Regions from separate parts of the Homo sapiens genome. Here region 2 is linked to region 1. Evidence: promoter capture Hi-C in human tissues and cell types (Jung and others, 2019). All regions are on one chromosome and are shown on one strand. Each heading gives the region's core, a stretch centred on a gene start or on the middle of the fragment in contact. The rest is flanking DNA. Distances are from core to core; before and after follow the strand shown.

Region 1 (4,095 bases), core at 1,169-3,668:
CAGTCAAAACACAATGTCACAGGTGCAGGGAGGTGAGCCACACGTCAGAGAGCTCTGTGTGTGAATGCGCACAGGCCTCCACCCACTGCTTTCCAGAGGCTTTCTGCTTTTTCTTGCTAGTTTCTGTCCAGTTTCCACTATAAATGAGGCTCACAAGGGACCAGACAGAACAAGGACTGGTTTTGAGGGCCTGGATCAATAACACCAATGCTGAGCTCAAAGGCTGCCCCAGGCCCTATGAACACAGAGCCCCTAGCGGCAGGCTGTGGGGCGGCCAGCCCACCTTCCCAGGTATCCTGGGGTTCTCCAGGAAGAGCTGTGAGCTGCCAGCTGTCGGGGTCACCCTTGGCAAGGCCTGCCCAATGGGGGCCTCATCTCCCTCTCCTGTAGAATGGAAAGGCGGTGAACCCAAAGATCTCTTAGATTCCGTCTAATTATAAAGTCTGCATGACGACTCTGGTTCCTCCAAGTCCCCAGCCATCCCTTGAGGCTGCTTGAGCAGCTACAGAATCCCTATTTCGAGTTGTCCGTCTCCCCAAACTCCAGGCACTTGGGGATGAGGCAGTGGTCCAGATGAGAGAGTACAGGAGAAGCTCTGCAGGCAGCTGCAGGTCCGTGAGGAGGAGCCATTGGGCAACAGTGCCAGCCACCCAGTGCCAGCAGCCACAGGACTGAAAACATCCCAGAAGCCAGGAAATGAGGACACGGCAGCTCTGAGGGGTCTTCTCTCCACACCCAGGCGCCAGCACCTGCTGGGTTTGGCCTCCATCAGGCCCGAGCTTGGTGCCTGCTGCCAGTGAGGTTGGTGTAAGGGTTCAGGAGGCCCGAGGGAAACAGGCACCGCCCAGCCAGACACCAAGCACAGGCAGCATCTGCCACTTGGCCATCATTTCACTGGCTTGGAAACTCCCTCTTTTCAATTTTTTTTTTTTTTTTTGAGACGGGGGTCTCGCCCTGTCATCCGGGCTGGAGCGCAGTGGCACGAACACAGCGCTCACTGCAGCCTCGAACTCCTGGGCCCAGGTGATCCTCCAGCTTCAGTCTCCCAAAAAGCTGGGATTACAGGCAAGAGCCATAGTGCCTGGCTGATTTGGCAACTCTCCATCATTGCTCTGTGGCTGCTGCCTCTTCCAGCCATTAGACCACACCCTCCTCAGGGCTTCCGCTGCCCCGTGGCATCTGCCTTTTGCCTTCTTGGTTCCTCTGCTCCCAACAACTCTCTCTGCACATCTCCCAGTCAGCACCAGAGCTTTCAGCTGAGGCCGCTGAACTCCCCATAAGTTAGTTGTCCTGGACCCAGCCGTCCTTGTCGACTCCATTCAGTAGTGGGCTGCCCAGTGGGAGGGTCACAGGGTCAGCTTGGCTCAGAGAAGCCATGGGTATGGTGGGTGTGCAACAGCTGCCCTGATGGGGCTAGGCTGGCAGGGTCCTGAGGTGGCTCAGGAGGTCCCAGCCCCCACTGAGACCAGGTCCTGCCTCTAAAGCTCCTGTTGTCCTGGAAGCTGGAGCCCAGCCTCACTACGACTTTTAGGGCAATGACTCCCCAAAAGGCTGAGGGCAGCCAAGTCCCTGGCTGGGCCCTGGAAGCACAGAGGGAAACATGACATGGTCCAGCCCCCAGGAGCTCTGGGTGCAGAGGGGGCAGGCAGACCTGAGCACATCCACCTCAACATAAGGTCATGACAAAGCAGGCCCTCAGGGGGCTTGGGGCTTGGAGCAGGGATGTCCCATAGTCCTCTAGGGGATGGCCAGGGAAGGGTCCTGGAGGGGAGGCACTGGGACTGGCAGAGAGATGAAAGATGTGACATGTGCAGAAGGGGAGGGTGTGCTGGTGCAAGAGAGTGAGCTCAGAAAAACAAGCTGGGGTCAGATCACAGAGACAGCTGGGCTTCCGGGATCGTTGTGTGTCCTTTCCCTGGGGCTTTGGGGGCCATAGAAGGGTAGTGAGCGAGGGGCTCTGCTGTGGAGGTCCCAGCCTGAAGGTGACAGTCTAGTTTCACGCCCTGGCTGCCTCAAGAAGGGAGGGGCTGCAATCCAGGAGGCCAGAGAGAGGCTGTCCCAGTGGTAGGGATAAGAGGCAACAATGCTGAGATGCCCTTTGCCCTAAATGCAACTCCACACCCCATCTCCATCATCCACGCCAGGGAGTCCCAGGGTCCATTTGTTGGCCCACAGCTTCTGCTTTCCTGCGGGCCTCTTCCGAGTCCCCCGGTCTCTCAGGAATGAAGCCCCAACGCTGTTGGCAAGACCCACCAGGCCTTCTTCAGACAGACACATCGAGGGACCCGTCATTCCACCCATGCCCAGCTTCCCGGAGGCCCTTCCTGCCTCCACTCCTCCCACCCCCGCTGCAGGTCACTGACCCTGCTTGGAAAACACCAGGCTTGCTCATATAAGGAGCGTGGGCCAGGCCTGAGTATTCAGCGATGGCATTTGCATGGTGGCCCTGTCTCATCTTGGCTCTGCTCTCCAGCTTGGCAGCCTCTGGCTTCCCGAGAAGCCCCTTTCGGCTGCTTGGGGTGAGTCTGCCCCCTCTTTGCCATCTGGGTCTTGGTGTGGAATGGGCAGAAGGCATCATGCTGGGCAAGGCCTCTGAGTGGAGTGAAGAGGAGGCAGAGGGCTGGGCACTGAGCTGCTGGGAGTAGTGTGGACACTGGGAGAACCGGGCTCCAGCTGAGGCCTATGCTAACCTGTTGTCTAACCCTGGGAAGGCTCTTAAAACTCCCTGGGCCTCAGCTTCCCCACCTGTCAAAAGAGCAATGCACCAGGAACTGCTCACTTCACTGAGGGGCAATGAAGGTTCAAGTCTCAAACGAGTGTGACCTCTACAAAATGCTCAGTTGAGCCCTGCGGGGTGTGGCGGGGGCAGGGGTGCTCTGGAAGGAGGCCTAAAGGGGCCTGGGGGCCAGGGAAAGGCAGAATGGGAGATAGAATGAGGTGGGGCATGTAGGGTGTGAAGAGAGCTCTGGGTTCAGTTCCCCCTGCCCTGCTCTCCTGGTAACCTGGATACCTGCCCCTCTCTGGACCTCAGTTTCCCCATCTATTCAGAGTTTTTCCTACTCTGACATGTGGCTCTGGAGGGTCCTATGTCTGGGGGCCACTCAGGTGTGTGGGGGGCAGGGCACCACTGAACCCCTGGTCTCAGCCCAGAGCCTCCCAGGCCATGCGGCCTTGGTGTTGGCCTTGGCCTGATTCCTGTGTTTGTGTTTGTTTTTGTTTTTTCAGAAACGGAGCCTCCCGGAAGGGGTAAGAACTTTCACCAGGGGGTGGGACCGAGTGGGGCAGGGCAGGATGGAGCTGGTTCCCCAACTGCTGAAGGTGTAGGCTATAACAGCTGACTCCTCACAGCTGGCAAACAGCTTACGGCCCTCTGCCCTGGCAGCCTCCAACAGCGCAGGACTCCTGGGAAAGAGCACCACAGAGTGACGACCCCTCCAACCTCGCAGGATGTAGCCCAAGAGGGCCCCTCACAGGCATCCCTTCCTTCCGCAGACACTTCCTTAGCACTTGCTGGTACCTGGCTCTGTGAAGCGGTCCCTGCCACACCCTCACGAAGCATCTTTATATCCCTAGGGGGAGGGGGCTGGAACACCTCCCTAGAGCCTCTCAAAATTCAACACCCCTATTGGAAAGAGGGTGTTTGGAGACTTCCCTTGGCACAGGAAATCAGTTCCTCTTTGGGAGACAGAATGAGGCAATTACCTAAAGACCCAGGAGGTGGGCTGGGCTGTGTGCTTGAGGGAGTGTGAGGTGTGGAGGATGAGCAGGAAGAGCCAGGGGCAGATGCTCCAGAGCCAGTGTCCCACGCATAGCTGGAGCTCAGGGTGACTGGACGGGAAAGGGCAAGCTCTCACTGGCTGCAGTGGTGTGTAAACGGATCGCAGAATTAAGGAGGCAGGACAAGCATCTGAATAATGGTGGCCACCAGAACATGGAGACTGGAGACGCCACCAAGTCTTCCAGTGTAGAAGACCTGGAGGATGAGGGTTGCGTGCCGGGCAGGGGCCTCAGAGCCTCCAAGGGTTTGCAAGGGAGGTGGCTGGGTTGCAAACCTGCTTCTCCAGTGTCCCAGTCTGGCTGATTCTCCACCCACCT
Region 2 (4,480 bases), core at 1,932-4,431, 110 kb after region 1:
TGCATTGCTGAACAAAGGCAGATAGCGTGCAAGCTTCCATAAATGCATTCCCTGCATTAGCCACTTCAACTCTGCTTCAAATGAGAAGGATGAAGATGGTGTACAAAGGAAAACAGCATAGTCCCCAGAAGCCCTCAAAATCTAGTCAAAATGTCACAGAAAAATCTGCATGTGCAGCAAAAAGGTTTCCCTAGCACACTAATTGAGCAGTAGTAGTCTAATATTGGTCAGCCAGCTTTTCAAGGTCCAGGAGGATGAAGTAGTCCATTAACCTGTTTTCTAAACTTGTCAATTCAGGGTAAAAAATGGGTCATGAAAAATTTTCTGACCTCAGGCAGGCTGTGGGCCCAGCTGCAGGTGAAATCCAGACAAATGCAGTCCCTTCACAATGTGACTGTTACACATTTAAGAAGTTGGTCTCTCTAAAAAACAAAGTTCTTGCACCTGTGTGCAACATACCAACATTTTACCCCAACATGGTGAGCTATTATCTGGCTTGAAATCTGTTTCAGCATCACAGTAACCAGAACATCATTGTTATCTAGCCCAGTCCCAGCAGCTTTGTGAGGTAAATTAAGTCCAAACTTTAAGTTAAAAAAGTGCCCTGTGCTAAATTCCCAATTATCCTTGCTTACATAATATACGGGAGTCGGCGCTGGGGGATATAATTCTTTATGCAATTGCCTAATAAACTATGCCTTAATAGGAGAATGCAAGAAATATTAAGGGAAACTCAACTTACTTGACCATTTAGAGTCAGCCTTTCTCTAGGAACGGGCTGAGCCTGAATAATCATGGTATAAACAAGCCTGTTGGGCTCTGACTCTACCTAGATCAGAGACTACGTAGGGCTGTATGTTTTGCCCTTCAGCGCCTTCATCCCCTCACCTGTGAAGGGAGATGATTCTTAATTCTGTGGTTTCTGGAGAAGTCAAAAGAGAGACAAAATAAAGCATTCATTGTTCTTGTGTTTGGTAAATTCCCTCTTATAGGAAATATATTTCACTTTCCTAAATAAGATAATAACACGAGGCCCTAAACATTAATTCCAGAAATTCTGTTCCATTATTCTTCCTCAAGGGGCCCTCTTTTCCTTAGTACCTTGACTGAACTCTCAGGAAATTTCATTAAGCAAGATTACCACCACTACCCACCAAAAGCTTAATGTTTAATGCTAATTATTCCCTAGCATTCCCTATATATCCTTGTCTTCCACAGACACAGATTTAAATTTTTAAAAACTGGATCTCTAAGTTTCAAACATACTAATTTTTACTTAAATGAAGCTTCTTCCCAGATAGATCTGGTAGGAACCTAAGTGAAGAGTTAATGATTTAATGTATGATTTAGTTGCAGGGCTTGAGTTAAGTTGGTTTATGAATTACCCAATGAAGAGAGGCTCCAGATTATTCATCAATGTCCACAAAAATAGGTTGGGGTGGTGGGGAATGGGAAAAAAAAATCACAATCAGTTAAAATTTGCTGTAATATTTCCTTATATTTGTAGAGCTGTTTAGAATTCACCCAGTTTGCAGGATTAAAACATTTTCAAATCTTGAGGAAGAATGATTGGGTTATAAATTTGCAGGTGATTAGGATAAAAAAAATTCAGCAAAGCAAACCATTTAAGGGAGACAACCTATGTATGTTTTTCCTCACTCCTCATGACTAGAATAGTGCAGCAAACGCTATTATTCTATAATAGCTAGCAATGGAATAGTAAGTGAAAATTCACCTGGAGTTTCATGTTAACTTGAGCTGGGCTAAAAGACACACTTAAAAGAATACTGAGTTGTTTAAATGGGAATCCTCGGACTAAAGATTATATTCAATTTAAAGGATTAGCTGAAAAAAGTCTAAGTGTGGCTAGGCAAAGAGGTTTCCAGAATCCTTAACCACATCTCAGTATTTATCCTGCCACTGAGGACACTGCTAACAGAAACTCCATGCTCTGCGTTACCCTCCAAAACATGTTTTCTGTGCTGTGCTTCTACACTGGAGACACCTGGAAAGAAGGACAAATGGGCTTCGCTGTGGGTCCATGGAACACTTACTGATTTTCACCCAAAGTAAAGACCTTAGAAATGAAACAGAGGTAGACAAACAACTCTAGAGAAAAGTAAACACAAAATAAAAGTCACTGAAGTCCCTCTGAGAATGAATAGGAAGAGGGCAATTAAACAGAAATACTAACAGTCTTGGTGATGTTACTTAACACAGGCAGCCTCGGCTGGGTCAAGATGGAGAACAGTAACAGTAGAGTTCTCAGATCAGGTCAGTTAAGGAACTGGTGTAAGTGCCCCATATAATGTTTTTAAGAAAGCAAACAGTTTCCCCCCCTCCAAATTCTGTCATAATTTTAGTGTTTATGTAGCTTAAAAATGGCATCATACAAAAAACCTCATACATGGCTGTAAGCTCAATTATCAACAGAGGTAGTAAACAAAGGAACTCCTAAGAATCGATTTTAAAATGATCAAAGTGTGACTATACATTCAAAACCCTAGAGCCACATAATCATCCCCAAAATGAACTGTTTTAATTTTAAAAAGTTTAAAAACACAATGACAATGAAGCACTGATATGCCTTAGGAACAGTCCCAAATCAGTGCTGACTTAAAGCTAAGTCCTCTCTTTCCAAGAAAAAGAAAGCAGAGAACAAAGTTCAATCTACAATGGGAGGGAACAGAATGAAAACAACCAAAAGGGTGCTTTCCAGCAGCCTAGGTTATTCTTTGTTTTCAGGCCACACCACTGGAAATGCTTTTCTTCTTATATAAGTCTTTTCCTCACAACCTTTATTTTTTAAAAACTGCCATCTGCTGAACAAGAGATGTCCACATTTCCACCAGCAGGTGATCCACTTCTGTGCACAGTTTTTGCTTCCTCACTGTGAGTCCTCCTTCCCCGAAAGTGCAAAGAGAGCAAGCTGATACCTGCAGGCCCCAGAGCCCCAGGACTATTCCAGCTCCACTTATAAAGCAGGGTGAAGGATTTGCTGCATTTGTGCTTCAAAGATCCAGCTCACTTTGGTTGTCCTTCTCAGTTGGCAAACTGCTCATAAAAAGCAAACTTGATCCTCTCTATGTGATGGCAAAGTTTGATGGCAGGGCCCAATTTTAAGTCCATGCATTCTTGAACAGTGGGAAGGGTAAGGAGCAACAGGGCCTGCCCATCAATTTCCTGTTAAAGCATAAAAGACAAATTATCTGTGATGTGCACATGAAAGGCAGCTTGATCATGACAGCCTCTCCTCACTTTAGCTCTGTCAAAACTGGAATCCCTATGCTTTCCTTTCCTTACTTTTTCGTCTTAGGTATCACACACTTCCTTTTAAGTGACTCCATAGTCTTCCACACTAATGAAGCTTCAGAATTAATAAAGTTTTACTGAGGACAATAAAGTTTTACCAAGGATAAGAATCCATTCCAGAGTCTCTGTCCCATAGAAATTTAGTAAACTGACTAGCCCTGTAACTGGCAACTAATTGTGCCATCTTTTTAGAGGGTTCCTTCTAAATCTGAAACAAAGGATTAACTATCAACTTCAATGTTTTCCTACTCTGTAACATTCATAAAAACCCGATAAGCTCTTGAATCTCCCTAATTTTCTAAACAAAACTTATTTCAATGTTTAAGGCCACTGACTGTGTTTCAGCAAGCTTGCCTTAAAACTTATCACCACTCTAGAGCCTAATGTGACAGATGCTATTTTTTTTTAAACAAGCAAATCATTATTTTTGAAAAGATGTGGACAATTAAGCATGGTATGCTTGATATTGGAGGGATGGAATCAAATTCTTAGGAAAAACTGGAATGCAATGATAATCTCCTTCAACTATGAAGCAAGTCTGATAAATAACTTTTTATCATCTTTGACTCCTAAAAATGGAATTAAGACAATTCTTGTCTTTTGGATCAAAACATTTTTCCTAAAACTTGTAAATAAATTGTTGACTATTACATCCATAATTTATTGCTAAAGAGACATTACTAAAAATTATAGGTATCTGTGATTACCTGGTCTAGGAATATTCTTGCTAATGGAGCACAGTCAGTGGATCTGATGAACCGCACAACGTCTGCCACACTCCACTTCAAGGGGTTACTGTCCAGGTGAAGCCTTTCAGCAACTTCGATCCTTATTTCCTTCATTCCCCACAACACAATCAAACCAAATGGTGTTACGGCTATTTTATTCTAAAAAAGTCTCTCTACCTAAATTCATAATCTTTCAAGACATGATTTAAAGTGGTCTTAGGACATGATTTCTCCCAGCAAAGATGGCAAAGACCCACGTGCATCAGGTACTCAGGAAATGTCTGTCTTTTATAATACGAAGTATCAATGGGAAAGAATTTATCTCAAAGTTCCAGCACAGATAATTTAGACAATTTAACTAAGAAAAACAGGGTGCTGAAGAGAAGGGGATGATAATTCCATTGAGAGAAGGCTTAACTAAACTACCAGGAGGAATCTTT

Evidence for each region. The method cuts DNA at HindIII sites, captures the fragments that hold promoters and counts their contacts. A contact is called where the count stands out against the background at its distance.
Region 2: a contact is called between a fragment that was not itself captured here and the fragment with the promoter of ITIH3 in region 1, in 5 of the 25 tissues and cell types used here (IMR-90 fibroblasts, dorsolateral prefrontal cortex, heart left ventricle and 2 more).

What each region holds. Positions count from the first base shown.
Region 1 is chr3:52,792,378-52,796,472 of GRCh38, forward strand. ITIH3 (inter-alpha-trypsin inhibitor heavy chain 3) reads left to right here and starts at 2,419. Exons shown (of 22, transcript NM_002217.4): 1 at 2,419-2,519; 2 at 3,226-3,246. The coding sequence starts at 2,427. RefSeq lists an enhancer at 2,017-2,906. The HindIII fragment of the contact is 27,249 bases long and covers 1-4,095 here.
Region 2 is chr3:52,902,094-52,906,573 of GRCh38, forward strand. It overlaps SFMBT1 (Scm like with four mbt domains 1), which reads right to left. Exons shown (of 21, transcript NM_016329.4): 20 at 4,020-4,148; 21 at 1,479-3,183. The coding sequence ends at 3,043. Among named protein-coding and RNA genes, the nearest start is that of STIMATE-MUSTN1, 6.8 kb to the left of the region's middle. The HindIII fragment of the contact is 5,171 bases long and covers 597-4,480 here.